Linked DNA regions of Homo sapiens: regions 2, 3 and 4 are each linked to region 1. The links are contacts of gene promoters, found by promoter capture Hi-C in blood cells and fetal thymus (Javierre and others, 2016). All regions are on one chromosome and are shown on one strand. The core of a region is centred on a gene start or on the middle of the fragment in contact, and the rest is flanking DNA. Distances in the headings are between cores, read along the strand shown. Region 1 holds the start of METTL22 (methyltransferase 22, Kin17 lysine). Region 2 overlaps PMM2 (phosphomannomutase 2). Region 3 holds the start of LOC100130283 (a long non-coding RNA gene). Region 4 overlaps ABAT (4-aminobutyrate aminotransferase).

Region 1 (2,856 bases), core at 115-2,614:
GATTATAGGTGTGAGCCACCAGGCATGGCCTATAGCGCAATTTTGTTGGAAAACTTACATCCCAGAAAAATCAATGTTCTTTGCTTTTTCCAAAAGTGAGCATAATATTACACACCAAATTTTAAGTATAGACACACACAAAAAAACTCAAATTCTTAATCTCTAGTTGAATTTTCCATTTTTAAATTCAACCCAACCAGGCTTCCCAAGAAATGTACGCTGCAATGTAAGTTCCAGATGAAGGAGATTCCCTTTAAGTGGCTTTCCCTAGAATCAGCTATCTGGGAATAAGGAGGCCCTCTTGAACCTATCTCAGGCCCTCATATACTCAGAGGAGTATATGAGACAATTACCACTTTTCGGGCTTACGACATATAGTAAACGTTCAATAAGCAACAATAGTAAATACTATCATTATAGTAATATAATAATGATTAAAGTGAATGCTGGGAAGAAAGAAAAAAGGTAACAGTTTCTCTAGTCAGGAAAAGTCTCTTTCCGGAAATGCAGGGTCTGTATGGGCTTCGGGCTCCTCTCTTTACTGGGCAGAGCTGAGAAAGGAGACCCAGGTTGCAGATGGGGACCTGCCCCACCACCTCTCCATAGGGCTGCAGGCTCATCCCTGCAGCAGGAGCTAACGTGTTCTTGGCTCTTCTAAGGCTGTGGGGGCTAGACTGAGACGCTACCAGCTTTCTTCTCCTATAGGTCCCCAGTCAGTTGTCCCAAATAAGCAGTGTGCTGGGATCACGGTGTTGAAATAACTTCCCTCCTCATCTTTCTTTCTGATAACTGCAACTCACTCAACAATCAATAATTTGGCGCGATCCCATGACGATTTAGGCCAGGAGCTGGGGAGGGCAGGGTGTGAAGGCCCAGGCTGGGGGCAGGAAAGACGTGGCCTGGCCACGGTGCGTAGAGTGGTAGTGAGGGGCTCCGGGGACGTCCCCCGTGGGGCTACTCGTTCTCTTTGTCTTGTCGCCTTCCTGACGCCACCCTTGTGGGTTAACTATTGCCCTCTCAAAAAACAGTCACAGGTCGGGCACTGCCCTCCCTTCCTAATCTAGAACCGAAGGAGAGGTGCCTGGACCCAGGATGGAAACCCAGGTGAGGACGTGGACTTCTTTCCCCAACACCCGTGTTGAGAAGGGGAAACTGACGCTAAGAGTGGGGTCGGGCCTTAGGGATCTGGGCCTCCGATCTGTGGGAGCTCGGATTTCAAAGTCAGGCTCGGCGCCAGGAGGTTCCCTGCACCCTACCCTATCCCGCCGCCTCTCCCAGGCACTTACCCGCCGCGGGGCCCAGCCTGGGATCCCACCCGACTCCCGTCTCTGTGGGACTTAGGCGGCCGCCATAACAGGCGGTCTGCGCAGGCGCGGCCCCGCCCCCGCGTGCGACCATCCGACTGCCCCGCACCGTGGCTCCACCTACCTGCCCGGGCCGCGCATGCGTCCGAGGGTTGCCGGCGGGCACCTGTAGCCTTCGCTCTGGTCGCGGGCGAGGCGTGTTTGCTGGGGGGACCCGCCTAGGTGGCTAAACTCATTCCTCTAAAAGACTTAAATAGGAGTTAAATAACTCTCCCAGCTACTAAGTGGTAAAGCCTGGATTCGAACCCGGGGTGTGGGATCAGAGCCGGTGCTATTTAACCAGCATGCTACTGTATTTATTATCACGGGTGTTACCGTCATCCATGCTCTTAGTACTCGTTTGTTTGTTTGTTTGTTTATTTGAGATGGTCTTGCTCTGTCACCCAGGCTGGAGTGCAGCGGCGCAATTTTAGCTCACTGCAGCCTTGAACTCCTGGGCTTAAGGAATCCTGTTTCAGCCTCTCTAGTAGCTGGGACTACAGTTGCGTGGCACCATTTTTTTTTTTTTTTGTACAGACTGTATCTTGTTGTGTTGCCCAGGCTGGTCTCAAACTCCTGGCTTCAAGCAGTCCTCCTGCTTCGGCCTCCTAAAGCTCATAAATTACAGGCATGAGCCACCACGCCCAGCCAGTACTTGTTATTATTAATAGGTGGTAGTGATTTCATTAGGTGGTAGTGATTTCGTTAATTCGTATGCTCATCAAGTTTCCAACACCAAGGGGGTGAGACAGAGTGGCAAACATAAGACTCCATGTTTGCTCGTTTTTTCTTGCCTGCAGAATTTCAGAAAGCCTCTGAGTCCGTGACTGAGCACAGCCCTCAGAAGAATCCCCTGAAGAGGATGAGCAGGATAGACCACAGATTCTCACGTCTCTTGCCTGAGTCACTGCATTTTTAGAAAAAGTACAGTCAATAATATTGGCCCTTTTCTCAATCTATATATTCAGTGACATCATGGAAGTCAGCCTGGCCACAATGGAGTAAGCCAGGGGATGGGCCGCAGGAAACGAGGATACATAGGTAGCCAGGGTTAGAACTTTTGTGACATTCTAAGAACTTTGGATTTTACTGTGCGTGAGATGGGGAGCTGCCAGGGATATACACCACACTGACGTGTTCACAGACATGCCCAGACACACACAGTGGTGCTCACTCTCAGACATGTCAGTGAACATACAAATATACACACAGGAACATATGTAAAGTCCACATATGTAAAATCTATATCCCTGTGTGTTCACATATACACACACGCACACACATGGCCTCAGCTGGCAACCTTTGTCTAAATTACTTTTTTTTCTCTTTTCAAAATAGAATTAAATCAACATCAATTTCATGGTTACTGATGATAAAACGTGGAGAGTTGATAGGGTGACTAAGCGACACAAATAAGAATTTTTTTTTTTTTTTTTTTTAAGAAACAGATTATGTTTCCTGAAATCCCCCAGGACAGTACACAGAGAGCCAGTTGGGTGTCTTGGGACCAGAT
Region 2 (3,072 bases), core at 400-2,899, 200 kb before region 1:
GAGGTCAGGAGTTCAAGACCAGCCTGGCCAACATAGTGAAACCCTGTCTCTACTAAAAATACAAAAATTAGCCAGGCCTGGTGGCGTGTGCCTGTGGTCCCAGCTACTCGGGAGGCTGAGGCACGAGAATCACTTGAACCCGGGAGGCAGAGGCTGCAGTGAGCTTAGATCATGCCATTGCACTCTATCTAGCCTGGGTGACAGAGCAAGACTCCATTTCAAAAAAAAATAAAAATAAAAATAAAAAAATAAAAAAAAGGCCTTTGTGCTTTTTCTCTTCCTGGATTTTTTTTTTTTCTTCGAGGAATGAGTTTTTGTTTGTCTTTCTTCTCAGTCAACTGAATTATTTCCCCAGTCTGTCTTCCTGCCACTCTGAATGCCCACATGAGAGGACCTAAGGTACTTTCTGACAGCTGGGGACTCCTTGGGAAAAAGAGAGAAGGCTCCACAGACCCTGTTTTGGGAGAAACTCTGTTTTCCTCATAAAACCCCAAGAAGTGTAAGCAGACAGACCCCTCTCAAAATCTAAGGCTCTGTTCTGTTTTGAATCACATTACTTGGCCTTTTTCACTTTTGAGGGCATCAGGAATTACTTTAGTAGGGGAGAGAGATATGTGAAAAAAGTTGAGGCTATAAAGATGTATTTTTGGTAAGGATGATTATAAAAAAAGAAATTTATATGAGAAAAGATCTTGTATGGTAAATTCTTGTCCTAAAATAGAACGACTGATTATTCACGAAAGAGGGACACATAGGACAAGTCAGACAGTCCAAGCATGGCATAGATGGTCTCTGTGAGTCGTGACAAGATTTGTAAAATGGGGAAAAAAAACCCCTAAAAAATCAGCAAATGAAAAATCTTAACTAATGCATCTTCTTCGGTCTATATATTTATAATGTTGTGTGTGTGATGTTTAAGAGCTGTAATTAATTGGCTTAAAAAATAAGCACTTAAATATTTTTTCAAAGAAATAGCAACTCTAATGCATTTTAGTTCACATGACGTTAGTAATCTTTGGTAAATAAAGATAGTTTTAAAGATTATTGATGAAATAAAACTGTCTTCATTTGGTCTGAATTAGGCAGATCAGATACTGTTTCTGCTGGATGCTTTAAGGTCATAAGTGGCTTCTGTGACTTTTGTAATTGTTCAATTTACCTACTTTAGAGCCATTAGATTCCAGATAAGGCCTGGGGACATATGGAGGTAGCCATGACTCCTAGCTAGGCCAGAGAGAGTCAGACTTTATCTGCAGTTCTGTCCTGTATTCTAGGCTCTGCACTTGGTATGTAATTAAAACTGCTTAAAGACATGGGAATATGGGTTTTTTTAAAAGAGAAAATCTTCTCTAATTTAGAGAGTTTAAAGATTATTTTTGGTTGAAAGACAAAATAAAACTGAAAGTTTAAGCAAATTGTAGGTTTGTGAAAAATTAACTTTGTGAACAACTCTGTGTGTGAGCAAGCTGGCTAAAATCGAAAGGGTATTATTTAATTTTTTCCATAAATTAAATATTAAAAGCATACTGATGCAGGGCCAGAATCTGGGCCCATATATCAAAATAATAGGGTTTTATGCCAGATGCGGTGGCACATGCCTGTAATCCTAGCACTTTGGAAGGCCGACGCAGGCAGATCACGAGGTCAGAAGTTCGAAACCAGCCTGGCCCATATGGTGAAATCCTGTCTCTACTAAAAATACAAAAATTAGCCGGGCGTGGTGGCACACGCCTGTAGTCCCAGCTACTCGGGAGGTTGAGGCAGAAGAATTGCTTGAACCTGAGAGGCAGAGGTTGCAGTGAGCTGAGAATGTGCCACTGCACTCCAGCCTGGGCAATGGAGCAAGACTCCATCTCAAAAAAAAAAAAAAAAATAGTGTTTTATTTTTGAACACTGATTTGTTAACAAACAATTATAAAGGGTTATATAAAAGGTTTACGAAAATGTTACCCTACAGTCAAACTAAAATCGGATACATTTGTTTGTAAAATTTTATTAAAAACTAGCTTTGGCTAGGAGTGGTGGCTCACAACTGTAATCCCAGCGCTTTGGGAGGCTGAGGTGGGCGATCACGTGGGGTCAGGAGTTCAAGACCAGCCTGGCCAACATGGCGAAACCCAGTCTCTACTAAAAAATACAAAAATTAGCCAGGAGTGGTGGTGGGTGCCTGTAATCCCAGCTACTTGGGAGGCAGGAGAATCGCTTGAACCCAGGAGGCGGAGGGTGCAGTGAGCCGAGATCATGCCACTGCACTCCAGCCTGGGTGACAAGAGTGAAACTCCGTCTCAAAACTACAACAGGCCGGGCACAGTGGCTCATGCCTGTAATCCTAGCACTTTGGGAGGCCGAGGTGGGTGGATCACGAGGTCAGGAGATCAAGACCATCCTGGCTAACATGGTGAAACCCCGTCTCTACTAAAAAATACAAAAAATTAGCCAGGCGTGGTGGCACACGCCTGTAGTCCCAGCTACTCGGGAGGCTGAAGCAGGAGAATGGCATGAACCCAGGAGATAGAGCTTGCAGTGAGCTGAGATCGTGCCACTGTACTCCAGCCTGGGCAACAGAGCGAGACTCCACCTCAAACAACAACAAAAACAAAACTAGCTTTAGCATTAAAGATGCACTAATGCGAGATAAAATTTGGTTTTCTCTTTTGAAGAATATTTTTATGTAATATTGACAGAGAGAGACAATGAAAGATTTTTATTTGGCTTTGGAGTAAACTATTAAAAAAAATAAAAGAAAGATTCAGTTGGCCTCATGCTATCTTCACTGGGTTTTGTTGTTTAGAAAGCTGAGTCTTCTCTCTATCAGAGTAAAGGTTTTTCCTGTTACAAAATGTTTGAGTTATCATTGTGGCTAAATGAATTACTTATGGTGACCTGGGATTCTACTTTGTGATATCTAGTGTTTCAAACCTTTGATATTTAACAAACTTCCCAAGATCAAATTCTAAGTTAAAAAAAAAAAGTCCCCTAAAGTCCAAAAGAGGCATATTTGGCTTATTTGGTGTATTAAAATTATGTAGGAAGCACTGTCAAATATAAAAAAGTGTTTAACTTTCTTTGGGT
Region 3 (2,864 bases), core at 200-2,699, 230 kb before region 1:
TTGGGGTGCCGTGGCAGGCAGCGTGGAGGTTGCCTGTCGTTCAGGTTGGAGGAGCCTGCCTGGGCTGAGGTGGCCAGCTGGGGCCCAGAGCCAGAACACTTGGGAGGGGTGGAGAGGAAGCAGCAGCCCTTGGAGAGGAAGTGATTCAAAACCACGTATGCCTGGATGTGTCCGGACTACGGCAACATCTGCCCAACTGCCTTCTCCTGGCCCCTGTGGGCACTCCCCTTCCAGTAGCTGGAGAGACCTTCCCGGACAGATCATGAGCATGCCCCACACCTCTCCCTCGGGATCAGGTTCAAGCTCAACTTCCTGGCTAGCCTCTCCCTCCAGGGAGCCAGAGGCCTGCCCTGCACTCACCCACTGCTCAGGTTCAACCCAGGCCTTTTCTCTGAGGCTTAAGCCCTGGGTGACCTTGAGTTCAGGGTCAGCTTCTGCAGTGCTGGGGATGGTGACTTTCAACAGTGCTAAGCTGGCCTGGATGCAACCTCTGTGCTTTGCTGTGGCTCAAAATTTACCTACTGTGTTTAAATTTCTTGTGACGGTGTCTTTATCCTGCAACCCCCTAAAGCAGAGAGAGGGACTGACTGTCCCTGCCTTATAGGGTTCTGGGTTGGGAAGGGGTATTACTTGAGTTAGTAATGGCTCACACTCACTGTTCAAAGTGCTTTAAATTCCATACACGGTAAGGACTATCCCATTTGACAGAGGAGGAAACTGAGGCGAAGATGAACTCACCTTAAGTCACGCAGCAGCTTGTAGCAGCAGAACTAGGCTTGGGGTCTTGGCAGCTGTGCTCTTACCTGCCATGTGCAGAACCTGCTGCTCTGGGGTCACGCAGAAGGCACCAGGACATGTTGTGCATGCGTCGTTTAGCTGTTATCACTTTACATCCCACCACAGTGCGGGGCAAGCCGATGCCCTTGGAGTAAGCCCCAGGAAGCTGGCCTGGGATGCAATGTGATGACAAAGAAGGTGGAAGGGGAGTGTCAATTCTGACTGCAGAAGGGAGGCAGCAGACAGTGCAGGAGGGGCTCGAGGGGCCTGGGGAGGGTCTCAAGCAGCCACTGTGGGAACTGGGGCAGGGACGGCCCAAACCTCCGCGCATCAGCACCCAGCCTGGCAGACTCGGGGTACTCACCTGAGGGCAGCCCTGTGCAGGCGGTGACACAGCAGCAACCCTCCATCTCCGGTTAAAACAAGTTTGAGTAAGACTCGGTTGTCTCGCTTTGACGCAATACGTTAAGGAAACTTGTAAAGAATGGCAGATCCTGACCCAGTGGGCAGAAAAGCAGCGGGGGAGGAGTCTGTGCATCAGGAACAGCAACATGCAACTCCGCAGAGGGAGGGGCCCCCGATGTGACAGAAATCCAGAGTAAAGAAAGAGTGGCTCTCAGACCTGGAAGGGCTGGGGTTCCATTCCAGAATCTGGGAACATAGGAGGAAAAAGAAATCGGAATGAGAAACAGGAAACAATAAAATCACTTTAATGTGCTACTCTTCACTTTGGAAGGTCATTACAGTATCATTCGACAAGGAAAGATGCCGCTGGATGGCTGTGTCCTGTGAGTCACTGGGATGAGCTGGCTGCTTTCACCCCACCGGATCCGGGGCTCAGACAGTTACAAGCCCGAGTGGCTGGGAGGTTTGGAGGGAACCAGGTTTAGCTGTGATGAAAGCACCTGGCTGTGGGCTGGGAGGCAGGAGTGCAGGGCAGCCTGGGCTCCCCTGGCCCCAGACTCAGGTCGGCAAGTGCCCAGTGGAGGCCACACAACCCCAGCACCAAGCAATGGAGGGTGTATGGCTCAGTGTTTCCACATCCTGAAAAGTGACACATGAACCGTTTCCTAGGAAAGTTCTCTTCCACCGTGTTCTAGCTGAGACCCGGGATCCTTCCAGTTTCACGAAGAACGTGCAGAAGATGAAAAGAGTGAGGGACGCGGACCTAGCTGTAGCTGCACTCAGCCGCCTCCGTGGTAAAGTCTGGGTGAAGGCCTGGGTGAGTGCAGATAGGAGAGCAGCTCCTCTTACTGTTCTCTGGCTGGGCTCTCGCTCCATCCCTGAGAAACTAGAGGCGAACGCCTCCAGGAAGCCAGCCAGGGGCAACCAGAAAGTCCTTTTGGTGAAGTCTGACATCCCGCGTTGGTTTCTCTGGACCTGGGTAAGAACCGGCCCCAGGGCAAGGACTGTTTTGCCAGCACCAACTCTCCAGCCCAGCTGTTGGTTCCCACTACCTCCGGTCTCGGAGACAGAGAAGCAGCCAGGCTATTCTGAGTGTAGTGAACACAGAGCCGGTCCGAATCCGGCCCAGCCGAGGTGCAAACTCCCTAGGGTCTGCTCCCACTTGGCCAGCCATCTGTCCAGCAGGCCTCAGCCCCAAACACGGGAAAACGCAGAGTGCGTCTAGTCACTGGGTATCACACTGCCCCACTCACAGCCCCCATCAAGGTGACATGCAGGCGGGAGCTTCGTTCCAGGAGGTGTTTGTAAACTTCGTCCTGGGCTGGGTCACTGCAGATGGCCTGTCCTGGTTTCTCATTACCAAACCCCCATGTTTGGTATTGATGCAGGGGCCCATTAAAAAAACCGCTTATGTTTCCACAGACCCACCAAGAGGGAGGGTCCAGGCACAGTTTTTCTTTCTGTATCATCCTAGAATGATGGGGAAATTTCCGCCAAAACTACATGATTGCACGTATCAGGGTGGGTATTAGACTAGGGGGCTGGGGGTGGGTGGGGAAGACCTTTTGTGCGAGGCATTCCTCTGGGCCATTCTTGACAAGAGTTTTCTCCTTCCTTCTGGAAGTTTCTGGCACTGGAGGTGGAAGTCCAGACTGCACATGCCTGGCATAGCATGCAGAGCC
Region 4 (2,734 bases), core at 16-2,515, 130 kb before region 1:
AACTGGAGGTGATGTTAGAAGACCCTACTCCAAGGTGGCTGTAGCCATTTAATGAGATAATGTATAAGGCACTTGGCAATATGCCAAGTGCATAGTAAATTCTCTATAAGTATTAACTTAAAAAAATCTTTTCAAAGACTACAGATACGGGAGGACAGGTGGCCAGAGAGAGAACTTTTAGAACTTCTAGAATTTTTCTGTTTTTGTTTTTTACTGAGACAGGGTCTTGCACTGTTGCCTCAGGCTGGAGTGCAGTGGAGTGATCATAGCCCACTGCAGCCTCAAACTCCTGGGCTCCAGAGATCCTCCTGACTGAGCCTCCAGAGTAGCTGGGACTACAGGCATGCACCAGCATGACTAGCTAATTTTTAAAACTCTTTTGTAGAGATTGGGGTTGGTTCTCACTATAATGCCCAGATTGGTCTTAAACTCCTGGCCTCAAACAATCCTCTTCCCTTGGCCTCCCAAAGTGCTGGGATTATCAGCGTGCTCCACCGTGCCCGACCAAACTTCTAGTTTTTTAAACAAATGCTGCTAATCTGATTCCCTGACCTTCATGCACACAGTGGCTAGCTGGGCATTCAGACTGAGGGAGTCCTCGGGGGTGGGTCACAGTCCCACAGCTAATATATAGTAGAGCCAGGATTTGAACCCAGGACAACTCAAGAGCCCATCCCTTCCACTCCCACACAAAGGGGAGATGGGGTTTTTAAATTCTTGTCTCCAAAATGCCTTCCATAGCTGAGGCATTCCTGAATGATGGACTTCCCCCAAAGAATGAGTCATCCGCTTACTGTCTAATCTCATGTTAGTGGCAAATAAATAGGTGTGAGGAAATGAGCAGGGGAAGAAGAGGAGGGGGGACAGCCAAGGCTGGGTCTCAGGGAAAGGCTCCAGGCTTCTGAGCAGGGTCCAAAGGGAGGTGCTGATGGGGAGCGGAGGATGCCCCGGGCTCTTCTGCAGCAGAAGAACCAGCATTACCTGTGAAGGGACAGGCTTCATCAGACACAGCCTATGGACTACTCAATGTAGCCAGGAATCCATCAGCCAAAGAAACATTAACCATCCAAGCTGCAAATAGCAGCTACCTGCATTTCCAATTTAGCCCTGTCCATCCTGTCTGTGTGCCCTTTTATACAGCGAGTGAACACTCTATATGGCTGGGAGGCGAGGCTGGGGAGGCAGACGCTGTGGGCATCCCACCGAGGTCACTTTTACTGGGCAGGTCACCGTTTTCCAGCTGCTGTGTGTGTTGATTGATAATAACTCCAGCTGCCTCCTTGCCTGGAAAATCGCCCTTGGCAAATGGAAGCCACTTTTCCGAGGAGATTATACGAGTTCTCCCCTCTCGCAGCTGATGGGCGATGACTGGCTGGTGAAGGGTCATAAAAAGCCAGGCCCTTTGCTTCAGTCTGAGACCAACTCTGGGGTGTGGTGTATGCACCAGAGCCCGAAGTGGGGTCAGGCTGTGGATAGTTCTAGCTAAGACCTCATCCTTCTTAGCTTATTCCCCCTGCCCCAGGCTGTTTCCTTTCCTCCCCTTTCTCCTGAGAGCTCTCCCTCAATCAATAACCTGCCCAAGAATCCCTACCTCTGGCTGGGTTCAGTGGCTCACACCTGAAATCCTAGCACTTTGGGAGGCCAAGGTGGGAGGATCACTTGAGTCCAGGAGTTCGAGACCAGCCTGGGCAGCGCATAGTGAGACCACCATCTCTACAAAAAATAAAAAAATTAGGCTGGGTATAGTGGCTCACACCTGTAATCCCAGCACTGTGGGAGGCTGAGGCAGGCAGATCACTTGCGGTCAGGAGTTCTAGACTACCCTGGCCAACATGGTAAAACCCCGTCTCTACTAAAAATGCAAAAATTAGATAGGCATGGTGGCGTGTGCCTGTAATCCCAGCTACTTGGGAGGCTGAGGCATGAGAATCACTTGAACCCGGGAGGCAGAGGTTGCAGTGAGCCAAGATCACGCCACTTCACTCCCGCCTGGTCGACAGAACAAGACTTCGTCTGGAAAAAAAAAAAAAAAAAAAAAAGCAGGGAAAAAGGAAATCCCCACCTCAGGCTCTTCTTCGAGGAAACTCAACCTAAGACACCTACCTGGGTGCCACTGTGGTCACACAGATGGGTTTGCATTCTAGCTATGATTCCTACGCAAGGTACCAAACCTTTCTATGCTTTGTTTACCTATCTGCAAAATGGGGATATTAATACATACTTACCCTGTGGAATTTGGGGAAGGAGTAGATGAGAGAGGACATATAATATGTCTAATAATATACCCTTTACACATTATTTATTTTTTTCCTACCCTTGGGTGAAGTGTCAGGCAACACTCTGGGATGTGCCTGCTGGAAGCCACATCCTAATACCTGGATAGCCACGACTAGGAGAGACAGAAACAGAGGTTATATCCAAGGAATGATTTCCCAGCTCTTACCTATGGGGACAGAGGAGATCTGGGAATAAAGATCCAGCATTCGGTTGCCGTCCACATCAACCAGGTAATTGCCTCGGCTCTCTTCGTAATTGCAGAAAAAATGCACAGCCTCTGCATTCTTGGAGAAAGAAAAGACCAACTCAGGCTCACTGCCACTCCCTAGATTCTTGGGCTTTTAGGATTAAGCTTGAATCAGTGAAGTACACCATATCGTGACTATCTGTGGACACACAGAGGCATCTGTGGGTGCCAGCAATGTATTTCTTGTTTTGGCTAAGTGCATGGGTGGTT

Evidence for each region. Contacts are between HindIII fragments. The CHiCAGO score rates a contact against its expected background, and 5 or more counts as called.
Region 2: a fragment that was not itself captured here is called in contact with the fragment with the promoter of METTL22 in region 1 in 1 of 17 cell types (neutrophils); the score reaches 6.5 in neutrophils.
Region 3: a contact is called between a fragment that was not itself captured here and the fragment with the promoter of METTL22 in region 1, in 1 of 17 cell types (neutrophils). The highest score is 10.7, in neutrophils.
Region 4: a fragment that was not itself captured here is called in contact with the fragment with the promoter of METTL22 in region 1 in 1 of 17 cell types (neutrophils); the score reaches 8.8 in neutrophils.

The regions. Positions count from the first base shown.
Region 1 is chr16:8,620,206-8,623,061 of GRCh38, reverse strand. METTL22 (methyltransferase 22, Kin17 lysine) reads right to left here and starts at 1,364. Exons shown (of 11, transcript NM_024109.4): 1 at 1,287-1,364. The HindIII fragment of the contact is 6,720 bases long and covers 1-2,856 here.
Region 2 is chr16:8,824,558-8,827,629 of GRCh38, reverse strand. The region is part of intron 7 of PMM2 (phosphomannomutase 2); the gene reads right to left. Among named protein-coding and RNA genes, the nearest start is that of PMM2, 28 kb to the right of the region's middle. The HindIII fragment of the contact is 4,887 bases long and covers 1-3,072 here.
Region 3 is chr16:8,847,933-8,850,796 of GRCh38, reverse strand. It overlaps PMM2 (phosphomannomutase 2), which reads right to left. Exons shown (of 8, transcript NM_000303.3): 8 at 1,472-2,864. It overlaps LOC100130283 (a long non-coding RNA gene), which reads right to left and starts at 1,328. Exons shown (of 5, transcript NR_147908.1): 1 at 1,142-1,328; 2 at 804-948. RefSeq lists an enhancer at 275-414. The HindIII fragment of the contact is 5,253 bases long and covers 1-2,864 here.
Region 4 is chr16:8,750,249-8,752,982 of GRCh38, reverse strand. It overlaps ABAT (4-aminobutyrate aminotransferase), which reads right to left. Exons shown (of 16, transcript NM_020686.6): 5 at 2,444-2,561. Among named protein-coding and RNA genes, the nearest start is that of TMEM186, 46 kb to the left of the region's middle. RefSeq lists an enhancer at 888-1,632. The HindIII fragment of the contact is 2,732 bases long and covers 1-2,631 here.